2 separate regions of the Homo sapiens genome follow, and region 2 is linked to region 1. Evidence: promoter capture Hi-C in human tissues and cell types (Jung and others, 2019). All regions are on one chromosome and are shown on one strand. Each heading gives the region's core, a stretch centred on a gene start or on the middle of the fragment in contact. The rest is flanking DNA. Distances are from core to core; before and after follow the strand shown.

What was found. The method cuts DNA at HindIII sites, captures the fragments that hold promoters and counts their contacts. A contact is called where the count stands out against the background at its distance.
Region 2: a fragment that was not itself captured here is called in contact with the fragment with the promoter of CHRNB2 in region 1 in 1 of the 25 tissues and cell types used here (bladder).

Annotation. Positions count from the first base shown.
Region 1 is chr1:154,564,833-154,570,314 of GRCh38, forward strand. CHRNB2 (cholinergic receptor nicotinic beta 2 subunit) reads left to right here and starts at 2,946. Exons shown (of 6, transcript NM_000748.3): 1 at 2,946-3,276; 2 at 4,630-4,775; 3 at 4,960-5,004; 4 at 5,426-5,482. The coding sequence starts at 3,213. LOC107985206 (a long non-coding RNA gene) reads right to left here and starts at 2,885. Exons shown (of 2, transcript XR_001738238.3): 1 at 2,592-2,885; 2 at 1-1,350. RefSeq lists a silencer at 3,117-3,246. The HindIII fragment of the contact is 6,337 bases long and covers 1-3,589 here.
Region 2 is chr1:154,436,995-154,442,615 of GRCh38, forward strand. All of the region lies in intron 6 of IL6R (interleukin 6 receptor), which reads left to right. Among named protein-coding and RNA genes, the nearest start is that of IL6R-AS1, 33 kb to the left of the region's middle. RefSeq lists a silencer at 5,542-5,621. The HindIII fragment of the contact is 3,775 bases long and covers 1-3,685 here.

The sequences.
Region 1 (5,482 bases), core at 1,696-4,195:
CAGGCTGGAGTTCAGTGACATAGTCTCGGCTCACTGCAACCACCTCCACGGCTCACGATATCCTCCCTCCTCAGCCTCCCAAGTACTGGGAGGTGTTGCCCAGGCTGGGAGCACGTGCCACCACACCTGGCTAATATTTTTAAATTTTTTGTAGAAACAGGGTTTCACCATGTTGCCCAGGCTGATCTTGAACTCTTGAGCTCAGTCCATCCACCTGCCCCAGCCTCCCAAAGTGCTTGGATTACGGACGTGAGCCACCGCTTTCCACCAATTTTAAGCCTTTCAAGAGAAAACATTCCTTATCATCAGTGGCAATGGGAGTGTCTCACCAAAACTTTGCCCAATTACTCTTTAGCCTCAGGATTGATACTTCTGCATCTGTTCATCACCCTCTGTGGTTCTGGACCTGTCCACTCTTCCTGGCTGCCTTTCTTCTTGGTGGGTATGGAAGGAGTATGTGTGGGAGAGATGAGGAAGGAGGTGTTCCCGCCCTGCTTGGACACTGGGTGGTTGTGCTCAGAAGACTCACTCCTTGCCAGGCTGGAAGTAAACTTGAAGCAAAAGCTGGGGGATTTGAGAAGAGAAGGTAGACTGGCCTGGAAGTTGCATCAGGAGAAGCCAGAGGCTTTAAGCAAGCAAATGACCCCCTAGTTTCTCATCCCATAAACAAGCAACCATTACAGAAAGAGATTTTTGTTAAGAGAAGACTTTCACAGCCTTCCTCAATCATTCTGCATCCACCAAAACTCCCTGTATTTCTTAGGAGTTTGGAATACCTTTAAGTCATCCTTGTCTTAATGACTTTCTCACCTTTCAAATCTCAATTTTCATCTTCATCCCTTCTAGGTTCTTAGACACTATTAACCTCTTCTTCCTCTGTGCTTCCATCCATAGCACTTCCTTTATATGTCTGTTAGAACAGCCATCACATTCTATAATAATTTGCTGCCAAACTGTGATCTCCTTAATAGCTGGGACTAAGTCTTTTTGATCACTGCATCTTCAACACATATGGTCCACAACACACATGCAGTTTCCTGGCAAACCACATATACCTAACAAATGTTGATCTAAATTGTTGAAGGAAGATCTTCCCACCCTCTATCTTTTCCTTAAGCAGAGGGACTACACACATTCCTTCTCTTTTCCTTAAGGCTTTTCTTCACTACTTTTCTTTGTTACAAGGTTTCTTTAATTCTTAAGAGATTATTGTGCGCTTACACATGCGCATGCCCCGGAACAAGTCGTGCAGATTTACGCCCATTTCCATGTGCATCATGGGGTCTGTAGTCCTTCTACTTCTCCAGTCCTCTTCTAGAACTTTTCTGCTTCTTCCCTTAATTCCACGACCTGGGGACATGGTCAATAAGTTGCTTTTAGCTGGGCTTTTATTTATTTATTTGTTTAGTTTTTGAAATGGGGTCTTGCTTCATTGCCCAGGCTGGAGTGCAGTTGCGCCATCATGCCCCAAACTGCAGCCCCGACCTCCCTGGCTTAAGTGATCCTCCCACCTCAGCCTCTCGAGTAGCTGGGACTATAGGCACACACCATCATGCCCGACTAATTTTTAAACTTTTTGTACACACGTGATCTCATTATGTTGCCCAGGCTGGTTTCAAACGCCTGGGCTCAAGTGATCCTTCTGCCTCAGCCTTTGAAAGTGCTGAGATTACGGGCTTAAGTCACCTCTCCTGGTCCCTAGCTGAGCTTTTAGAGAGAAATTTTCCCTACACATTAAAAAGTGTCAGTCCAGTACTAGCCCTTTTCCTTACCTGTTGAGCCCTTATAATAATATGCCAGGCACTGTGTTGATTCATAATCTAGAGAGGCAGCCACTGCCTCAGGTGGATTCATTTATTCATTGGACATGCTCTGGAAACATATAACAAAGTATCTGATCTAGTTCTTGGTCAGGCGCAGCTTCCTTAAGGAATTGACATTCCTGCCAAATGCTCAAAGTTAAGTAGAAGGTGATGAGGGGAACATGGGTTATAAAAGAGCCCAAGAGAACCATGCATTTAAGTCCCTGAAGTGTGGGGGATGATGGGACGGATAAGATGTTCAAGGATCCTGAAGACCTTGCCAATAGTTGGAATGTGGAGCTGGGGGTGGAGTGACCCAGATGAGGTTGAAGTAAGCAGGGACAAAACAGGACAGAGCCTTGCTGTATGCTAAGTCTGCTTTAGTCAGGAATCTTTTGGTTGAAAGTGACAACGAACCCACTGAAGGAAAAAAAGGGGCTAAGAGTTCAGGGTTCTCATCTTTGGTCTCCTTTGTGTTAGCTTCTCTCTTGATCAGGCCTCTGTGAGTGGTCTCTGATCTCCCTAGTCACACAGAAGCCAACAGCTGGAGTCAAGAGAAGGGGGTGAGGAAGGCCGATGAATAGGGGCTACTTGTCTTTCCACTATTACCCTCAAGTCTACCTTCTTTGCAGGCAAGTCTAGACCTCCTCAGGTAGACCCTCAGTGGGAGGGCAGGAAGCTTAGCCTTTTAGACTCCAAAGCCGTTTGCTTTCTTAAAAATAGCAAACCCACAGCCCCCTATCTCTTTAAGGGGCTAAACACATTTTCTCTGCTGTATCCTCAGCCTACCTGGGGAGCAGGACCATTTGGGTTTGGTAAGAGAAAAAAGGAGGGCGAAAACCCCGGACACTCCTCCTGTCTCCCGACGCTCGTTCTGGCCGTCTGGCCCTCAGTACTAAGCAGGCCCTGACCTACTTGTCTTACTCTTGCTGCTTCTTCCCGCCGGGCCTCTTGCCCCTTCTCCGACCATGCTGCAGGTCCTGCCCCAACTTTAGGACTTCAGAACTCCTCCACCGTGCCGTGGAGGAACAGCCCTTCTTCCACCTCACGCACACCCTACCACGGCAGAACCAATCGAAGACTATCCCAGCCGGGGACCCCCCTTTTTTTTCCTGGGACCCAGCGTTTCCGCCTCCGGGGCGCAGACTCCTCCCCCTCACCGTCCCAATTGTATTCCCTGGAAGAGCAGCCGGAAAAGCCTCCGCCTGCTCATACCAGGATAGGCAAGAAGCTGGTTTCTCCTCGCAGCCGGCTCCCTGAGGCCCAGGAACCACCGCGGCGGCCGGCACCACCTGGACCCAGCTCCAGGCGGGCGCGGCTTCAGCACCACGGACAGCGCCCCACCCGCGGCCCTCCCCCCGGCGGCGCGCTCCAGCCGGTGTAGGCGAGGCAGCGAGCTATGCCCGCGGCATGGCCCGGCGCTGCGGCCCCGTGGCGCTGCTCCTTGGCTTCGGCCTCCTCCGGCTGTGCTCAGGTAAGGGAAAGACGGGCACTGGCCAGGTTCTCCTACCCCAGCCAACGGCCCAAGACTCGCCGCCCTCTGACTCACCCCTGCTAGGCCGGAAGGTGGAAGAAGGGATTCCCTAGAGGTGGGGGAGTCTGCTGGAGGTTAGGGGAGAGCCCCCCGGGACTGCAGAGAGCACCTGGGAGGCTGGACTGGGAACGAGACATACTCGAAGGAGTAAGTGAAGCAAGAAAGAGATGGAAACCTGGCCAGCGGTGGTAGGGGTGGTGCAGGCACAGAGAGCAAGGAGGCAGGGGATCTCCCCAGGCGTCCTGGGGTGGCAGGAGGCCGGCTCTGAGGGCGCTAAGATGCCATCTGACTTTTTGTGAAACATTATCTCAAGAAAGGTACCTGGACCAGCACCCCTCCCCGGGCTCCCCATCGTTTCCCATCCCCCACATTGGGCTCCAGATTCTCGTCACCCCTCAGGGGCAGAGAAGGGGAGAAAACGGAACGGACTTTTCAACCCTCCTGTAGGGTGGGACAGGAGGCTTGGAAGGGAAGAAGCTCTGCCAGGCTGAGGACTAGGAAGGAACTCTCTGAGGGGATGGGGAGGGGTGTGTTCGTGCAGAGTTGCAGAGGGGGATGCAGTGTGCCGGGGAGGGGCAGGTACAAAGGGAATGCACAACTGAATGAGCTTTCCACACCTACAGGCCACCTCTAGGGGTGGGCTGCTGTGTGTGTGAAACTTGGGGCTACATATATGCCTGACCCACAGCTTAGGCAGCCCAGCTATTCCACTCCAACCCAGTGCCTTTAGGGAGAGGGGAGGATGGCATCGTGACCACAGTCACATGTCATTACGTGAGGCACATAATGTCATTTGCACATGTAAATGGTGAACGGGAACAGTTATTTGTGTCCCACCACACATACACTTTCTCCTCAATCGGCAGGAGAAAGGATGTGTGTGGTGGGACACAAATAACTGGGACAAATAACTGTTCACCTTCACTGCCCTGCTAAACCTCCCTTGAGTCATAGGTATTTGCTGGGGAAGCCATGGAAGCAGAAATCTCAAACTGCCCTCTGAGACTTTGGGGGAAGAGCAGGTCTCCATGAATCCTTGCAGAGTGGGTTCTTAGTCTCAAGTCATCTCTGTGGAGCTGTGTAGACTCTTTGGTCAGTGGTCTCAGAGAGGGGCTTTTCTATGAAGACATTAATCTGGGGCCTCCCTGGGGTTAATCTAAGCATTTTGCAGTATCCTTAGGGATGTAGGGAGATACTGGTTGGGCCTGGATTGTCCCATTTGCCTGGGGAGGGTGGGATGCTGGGTGGGCTCTCCTTGCCTGCTTACTTTCGTCCTGCCTTTCCCCTGCCCAGGGGTGTGGGGTACGGATACAGAGGAGCGGCTGGTGGAGCATCTCCTGGATCCTTCCCGCTACAACAAGCTTATCCGCCCAGCCACCAATGGCTCTGAGCTGGTGACAGTACAGCTTATGGTGTCACTGGCCCAGCTCATCAGTGTGGTGAGTAGAGGTCCCAGGCTCTCTGCCCAGCTACTGAAATCAGCCCCGCCAAAATGTGTTAATGCTTGTGTGCTTCCTCCCCTGGTGTTTCCAAGGCTTGGGGAGGTGTGAGAGGGACCCTGGGTGGTGGCAGTGACCCCACAGGCTTAGGGGCCTTCTCGGCAGCCTCTCTTCCTCCCTGCAGCATGAGCGGGAGCAGATCATGACCACCAATGTCTGGCTGACCCAGGTAAGCGTAAGTGCTCTCTTCCACCCACACCCCTGGCCTTCTCTCTCCTCCTTTTTCCCCATGTGCTTTTTTCTTTCTTAATCTCTCAAAACAGGCAGAAAGGTATAGAGTTTGGAGTCCTAAACAATTGGATTTGAATCTTGGCACTCACCAGCCTTGTGACTTTAAACATATTAAACTCTCCAAGATTCATTTTCTCATTTGTAAATGTAGATTCTAATACTGTACCTTGGCCTAGCTGTGCAAATTAAATGAGAAAGTACCACATGAGCCATACCTGATGGGCAGAGAAGTCACTGTGGGGAAGAGGCTGGCTTTTAAAAGGTCCCTCAAGCCATATGGGCCCCCTCTAGTTCGTTTCCTTAACCTTGAGCCCCACCCAGGGCACAAGTTGGTACTGCCTCCCTCTCTCATTTCCCAGGAGTGGGAAGATTATCGCCTCACCTGGAAGCCTGAAGAGTTTGACAACATGAAGAAA
Region 2 (5,621 bases), core at 548-3,047, 130 kb before region 1:
ATTCCCCATGTTGTCAATTACTTTTGGAAACTTATTATTTAGTAACTGCCTGATTAATACATATATTTTAAAACTCCATGGAAATTTGTTGTTGTTGTTGTTGTTTTGTTTGTTTGTTTTGAGACGGAGTCTCACTCTGTCACCCAGGCTGGAGTGCAGTGGCATGATCTTGGCTCACTGCAAGCTCCGCTTTCCAGGTTCATGCCATTCTCCTGCCTCAGCCTGCCGAGCAGCCGGGACTACAGGCACCTGCCACCACGCCCAGCTAATTTTTTCTATTTTTTAGTAGAGACGGGGTTTCACCGTGTTAGCCAGGATGGTCTCAATCTCCTGACCTTGTGATCCACCCGCCTCAGCCTCCCAAAGTGCTGGGATTATAGGCATGAGTCACTGTGCCCGGTCGGAAATTTTTTTTAACTTAAATTTTTTTTTTTTTGAAGACAGGCTTTCTCCTCGTTGCCCAGGATGGAGTACAGCAGTGCAATCACAGCTCACGGCAACTTCTGCCTCCTGGGTTCAAGCAATCCTCCCGCCTCAGCCTCCTAAGTAGCTGGGACCACAGGCGTGTGCCACAATGCTAATTTTTTAAAAATGTTTTGTAGAGACAGGGTTTCACCATGCTGCCCAGGCTGGTCTCGAACTCCTGGCCTCAAGTGATCCACCAGCCTCAGACTCCCAAAGTGCTGGGATTACTGGTGTGAGCCACTGCACCTGACTAAACTTTAAATTTTTTTTTTTAGACGGAATCTCGCTCTGTTGCCCAGGCTGGAGTGCAGTGGCATGATATTGGCTCACTGCAAGCTCTGCCTCTTGGGTTCACGCTATTCTCCTGCCTCAGCCTCCTGAGTAGCTGGGACTACAGGTGCACACCACCACGCCCGGCTAATTTTTTTTTTTTTTTAGTAGAGACGGGGTTTCACTGTGTTGGCCAGGCTGGTCTTGAACTCCTGACCTCGTGATCCACCCGCCTCGCCCTCCCAAAATGCTGGGATTACAGGTGTGAGCCACCGCGCCTGGCCTAAACTTTTAAAATTTTAATCAAATTAATACATGCACATGGCAAAGAAGTAATAAACAGCTTATAACACTGAGCAGTGGTCCCTTGTCCCATGCCTTCCATTTCTAGTCCTGCTTTCTAAGGAAGCTGCTTGACTCTTTCTGTTTCTAGTTCCTCTGTTGGTGCCCTCCTTAACTCTAAACAACAAGCTTATATGGCTTTTTTTTTTCCCTGATAAAACCACTTGAGACATTATCTATCAACACCCTGCTATGAAAGGTTAGGATTTAGCAGATCTAGAATGCAAGAATCTCCCTGACCACAACCCAGAGAGTGGTCAGCCAGCCTCTGCTTAAATGCTTCCAGAGACAGAGAGCTTACTACCCCTTGCAGCAATCTGTTTTATTGTTCCCAGTGTTTTTGTTGTAGAATGGCTTCATGGCTCACTTTGGGGTCAAATGTTTCTAGCCCTGTGGCGTAGTTGAACCAAATTAATCATTCTTAAATACTTGGCAGTTAGGAAAAAAAAAAGAATAAGATACCCATTTATTTGAGTAAGTATGGATAAAAAGGAAAAGGTAGAATTGACATCAGTCCCATCCCGACCCCTGCCACTTTCTCCCAGCCCTGGCCCCAGGGAGAGAAGGCTTTTATCTATGGGCTGCACATTCTTCCCCCAGATTGGATGGTGTGGGGTGATGGCTCTTCCTCCTGGCTGGCTTTGTACTGTGGGGTCCTTGTCCCTTGTCTTTCCTGTCCTGGGGAGAGCCAGAGGAGTATGCTGGGGCTTAGGGTGTAATCCTAGTTGGATGCAATAATATGAAGTGCCGGCTTCCATCTTTGTTGGCACTTTCCTTGTTCATCAAGGACAGGAGGCAGCTTTCTATTGGGCCCTCTCCTCAAAAGCTTTTTTCCTGCTCAGACCTGGACAAGGAGTGGGGCCTAACTACTATATCTTACTTAGGGAGACCATTTTAATAAATCAGTGCATCCTTCAGGGTAGATCGTATTGACCTGTCCATGGTTTTCTTTGATTTGTGTATACTTTGAGCCAAACACACTCATTTATCTGAATGCTGAGCATCAGTATGGCTTTGGGGGCCTTTTTAAGGGGGGAAAAATCAGCTCTAACATCGTGCAGAGGAATAGGAATTCCAAATATAGGCTGATCCCTATTTTACCTTTTATTCCAACCACTTAGTTCAGATAGTCACAAGCAGCTTAAAGCTTGTGACAAGCAGCTTAAAAGCAATCTTGCTTTTTTATAAAGTTTCTTCTAAAAATTTTCAAATTGTAAAATGTACATAAGATTTACCATTTATATTATTATTATTATTTTTTGAGACGGAGTCTCGCTCTGTCGCCCAGGCTAGAGTGCAGTGGCGTGATCTCAGCTCAATGCAACCTCTGCCTCCCGGGTTCAAGCAATTCTCCTATCTCAGCCTCCCGAGTAGCTGGGACTACAGGCACCTGCCACCATGACTGGCTAATTTTTATATTTTTAGTGGAGATGGGGTTTCACCATATTGGTCAGGCTGGTCTTGAACCCCTGACCTCAGGTGATTCACCCACCTCAGCCTCCCAAAGTGCTGGGATTACAGGCGTGAGCCACCGCGCCCTGCCCATTTATATTATTTTTAAGTGCACAGCTCTGTGGCATTAAGTATTGTTGTGCAACCATCACCACTTTACTTCTCCAGGACTTTTTTCATCTTGTAAAACTGAAACTCAGAATCTGTTAAACAGTAACTTTCCTTTCACCCACTCCTTCCCCCAGCTCGTGGCAACCACCAGTCTACTTGCTTTTTCTGTGAGTTTGACTACTCTAGTACTTCATTTGCTTGCTTGCTTGCTTGCATGCCTGCCTACCTGCCTGCCTGCCTTCCTTTGTCTCTTTCTGTCTCTCTCTTTTTCTCTTTTTTTTTGAGACGGAGTCTCACTCTGTCACCCACCCAGGCTGGAGTGCACTGTCGTGACCTTGGCTCACTGCAACCTCTGCCTCCCGGGTTCAAGCAATTCTCCAGCCTTAGCCTCCTGAGTAGCTGAGATTACAGGCGCCTGCCACCATGCCTGGCTAATTTTTGTATTTTTTGTAGAGACAAGGTTTCACCATGTTGCCCAGGCTGCACTCTAGGTACTTCAAATAAGTGGAATCAGAGAGTATTTGTCCTTTGGTGACTGACTTATTTCACTTAGCATAATGTCCTCAAGGTTTATTCATGTGGTATAACATGTGTCAGACTTTCCTCCCTTTTTAAGGCTGAATAATATTCCATTGTGTAGAGATACCACATTGTGTTGATTCATTCATTTGTCAGGGGACACTGGGTTTGCTTCCCCATTTTGGTTGTGCATAATGCTGCTATGAACACGGGTGTAAAATATCTGTTTAGATTCCTGCTTTCAGTTCTTTTGTGTATATACTCAGAATTATAATTGTGGCATTATATGGTAATTCTATTTTTAAATTTTCATGGAAATGCCATGCCGTTTTCCACAGTGGCTGCACCATTTTACACTTACACCAGAGTGTATAAGGGTTCCAGTTTCTCCACATCCTTGCCAACATTTGTTATTTTTCATTTTGCTGCAATAGTCCTCCTTATGGATGTGAAGTGTTATCTCACTGTGGTTTTGATTTGCATTTCCCTAATGATTAATGTCTTTTTTTTTTTTTTTTTGAGACAGAGTCTCACCCTGTCACCCAGTCTGGAGTGCAGTGGGGCGATCTTGGCTCACTGTAACCTCCACCTCCTGGGGTTCAAGTGATTCTCGTGCCTCAGCCTCCCGAGTAGTTGAGATTGGCATGCACCACCACACCCAGCTAATTTTTGTATTTTTAGCAGAGACGGGGCTTTGCCATGTTGGCGAGGCTGCTCTTGAACTCCTGACCTCAAGTGATCTGCCCATCTATGCCTCCCAAAGTACTGGGATTACAGGCGTGAGCCACCACACCCAGGCTGAGGATCTTTTCATGTGCTTCTTGGCCATTCATATATCTTTGGAGAAATATCTATTCAAATAGAAAGTTCTTTCTTATGTGAACCTAACTCTGGCCTCACTGGCCCTTGCTCTGTTCTCAGGGATAACCAATGACAAATTTCCTAGTCTGCTCTCTCTGAATTCTTTTGGAGTTCCCAGACCTGCATCTGCTTGGGCTCCTCTTCCCAGGCTGTTACATGAGATGGTCTGTGAATTCTTCACCTTTCTGGCCCCCTTCCCCTGAATCTGGTCTCATTTGTGGATGTCCCTCTTTAAGTTGCTGACACTCTCCTTCTATTGGAAGATGGTGTGGTGGGGGCTGTCTGGCCAGCACTGGGTACGGTCTCCACTTTCCAGCCTCAGGTGGATGTGCTTCTTTGGCATAGACACAGCTTCTGTGGGAGCTCAGATAGAACAGTCGGTTTCTTCTCATGTAAGGAGCGGAAGACTTTGAGCCCTCCACCCTATGCATGTGTGGTTTGAGGCAGGGGAAGTCTTCAAAACCCAGTTGTGAATATATCCAAGAAAGAAACCTGCTGCTCCCCTCTCTGCTGAGGGAAGAGCAAGAGGAACTTGGATGATTTTGACGCAAGAGGGGGATTCAGGTTGGAAATTGGCGGGCAGTTCTGAAAAATAAGGGGAAGGTTAGAGCACTAGGTGAGGTGTGTGTTATGGACCACGGTTATTTGGCTGTTAGGGACGCATCAGTGTACTAAACACTGTATCACCGTGTGGGGTGAGCTTACCCACCCCAAGGACCTTCAGCTCTCAAGGCCCAGACAGACAGGATGCACCTGCCTCCCAGACTAGGTGTGGGAGTGGTGGCCTTTGGGAGACACAGAGGTCCTGGGAAGCACCTGGGAGTCAGGTTGTATGACACTGGTAAAGTTAGTTCAGCTCTCAGAGCCTCAGTCTTGTCATCGGTAAAGTAGAGATGATAGCACCAATCTTGTTCCTTTCAGAGAGTTTTTGTGAGTCTGATGAAAAAATATTCTTTAGAAATGCTAAAGCATACTGCATTTGTAAGGGGATCAGCAATTACAGGACAGTGCTGGTTCTTGGGAGGAGAGTGGGACCAGGGGCATCCCAGAATCACTATCCTGGATGCCATCGTGAACTCACTGCATTGGAATCTGGAGGAGGAAGTAGAGTGGGTGGTTTGAGAAAGCTTTCCTGGTGGTTTTAGTATGTGCTTGAGGGGGCTGGAGGAGGGTGCGTGCCCCACTGTAGTATGTCTAATACGTAATAGATGGTGTTCACAGCACGATAAGGCCGTAAGCAGACTGTTCTGTTGGGGCAGTTTAGAGATAGCAGGAAAAGCTTCATGGAGGAGGTGACAATTGAATTATGTCTTGAAGGATGTGTAGGAGGGTCCCAGACAGAAAATGGGGATTGTAGGCAGAGTACAAAGGCACGGAGCTGTGAGCAAGGGGAGGGTGGCAGAGAGCTGCTTGGTGAGGCCGACACGTGTGTGGGTGGGTGGTCTGAGTGGGACAGGTGGAGGCCGGCCTTGGTGGGCCCCTGTAGGAGTGGAAGTGGAATGCCATAGAGTGGGGCTCTGGAGCCTGGACTTCAGCAGGTGCTGCCCCCTTGAGGCTGGGGCCTGGCCCCCCGCACAGACTGTAGCCCAGGATAGCCTTTT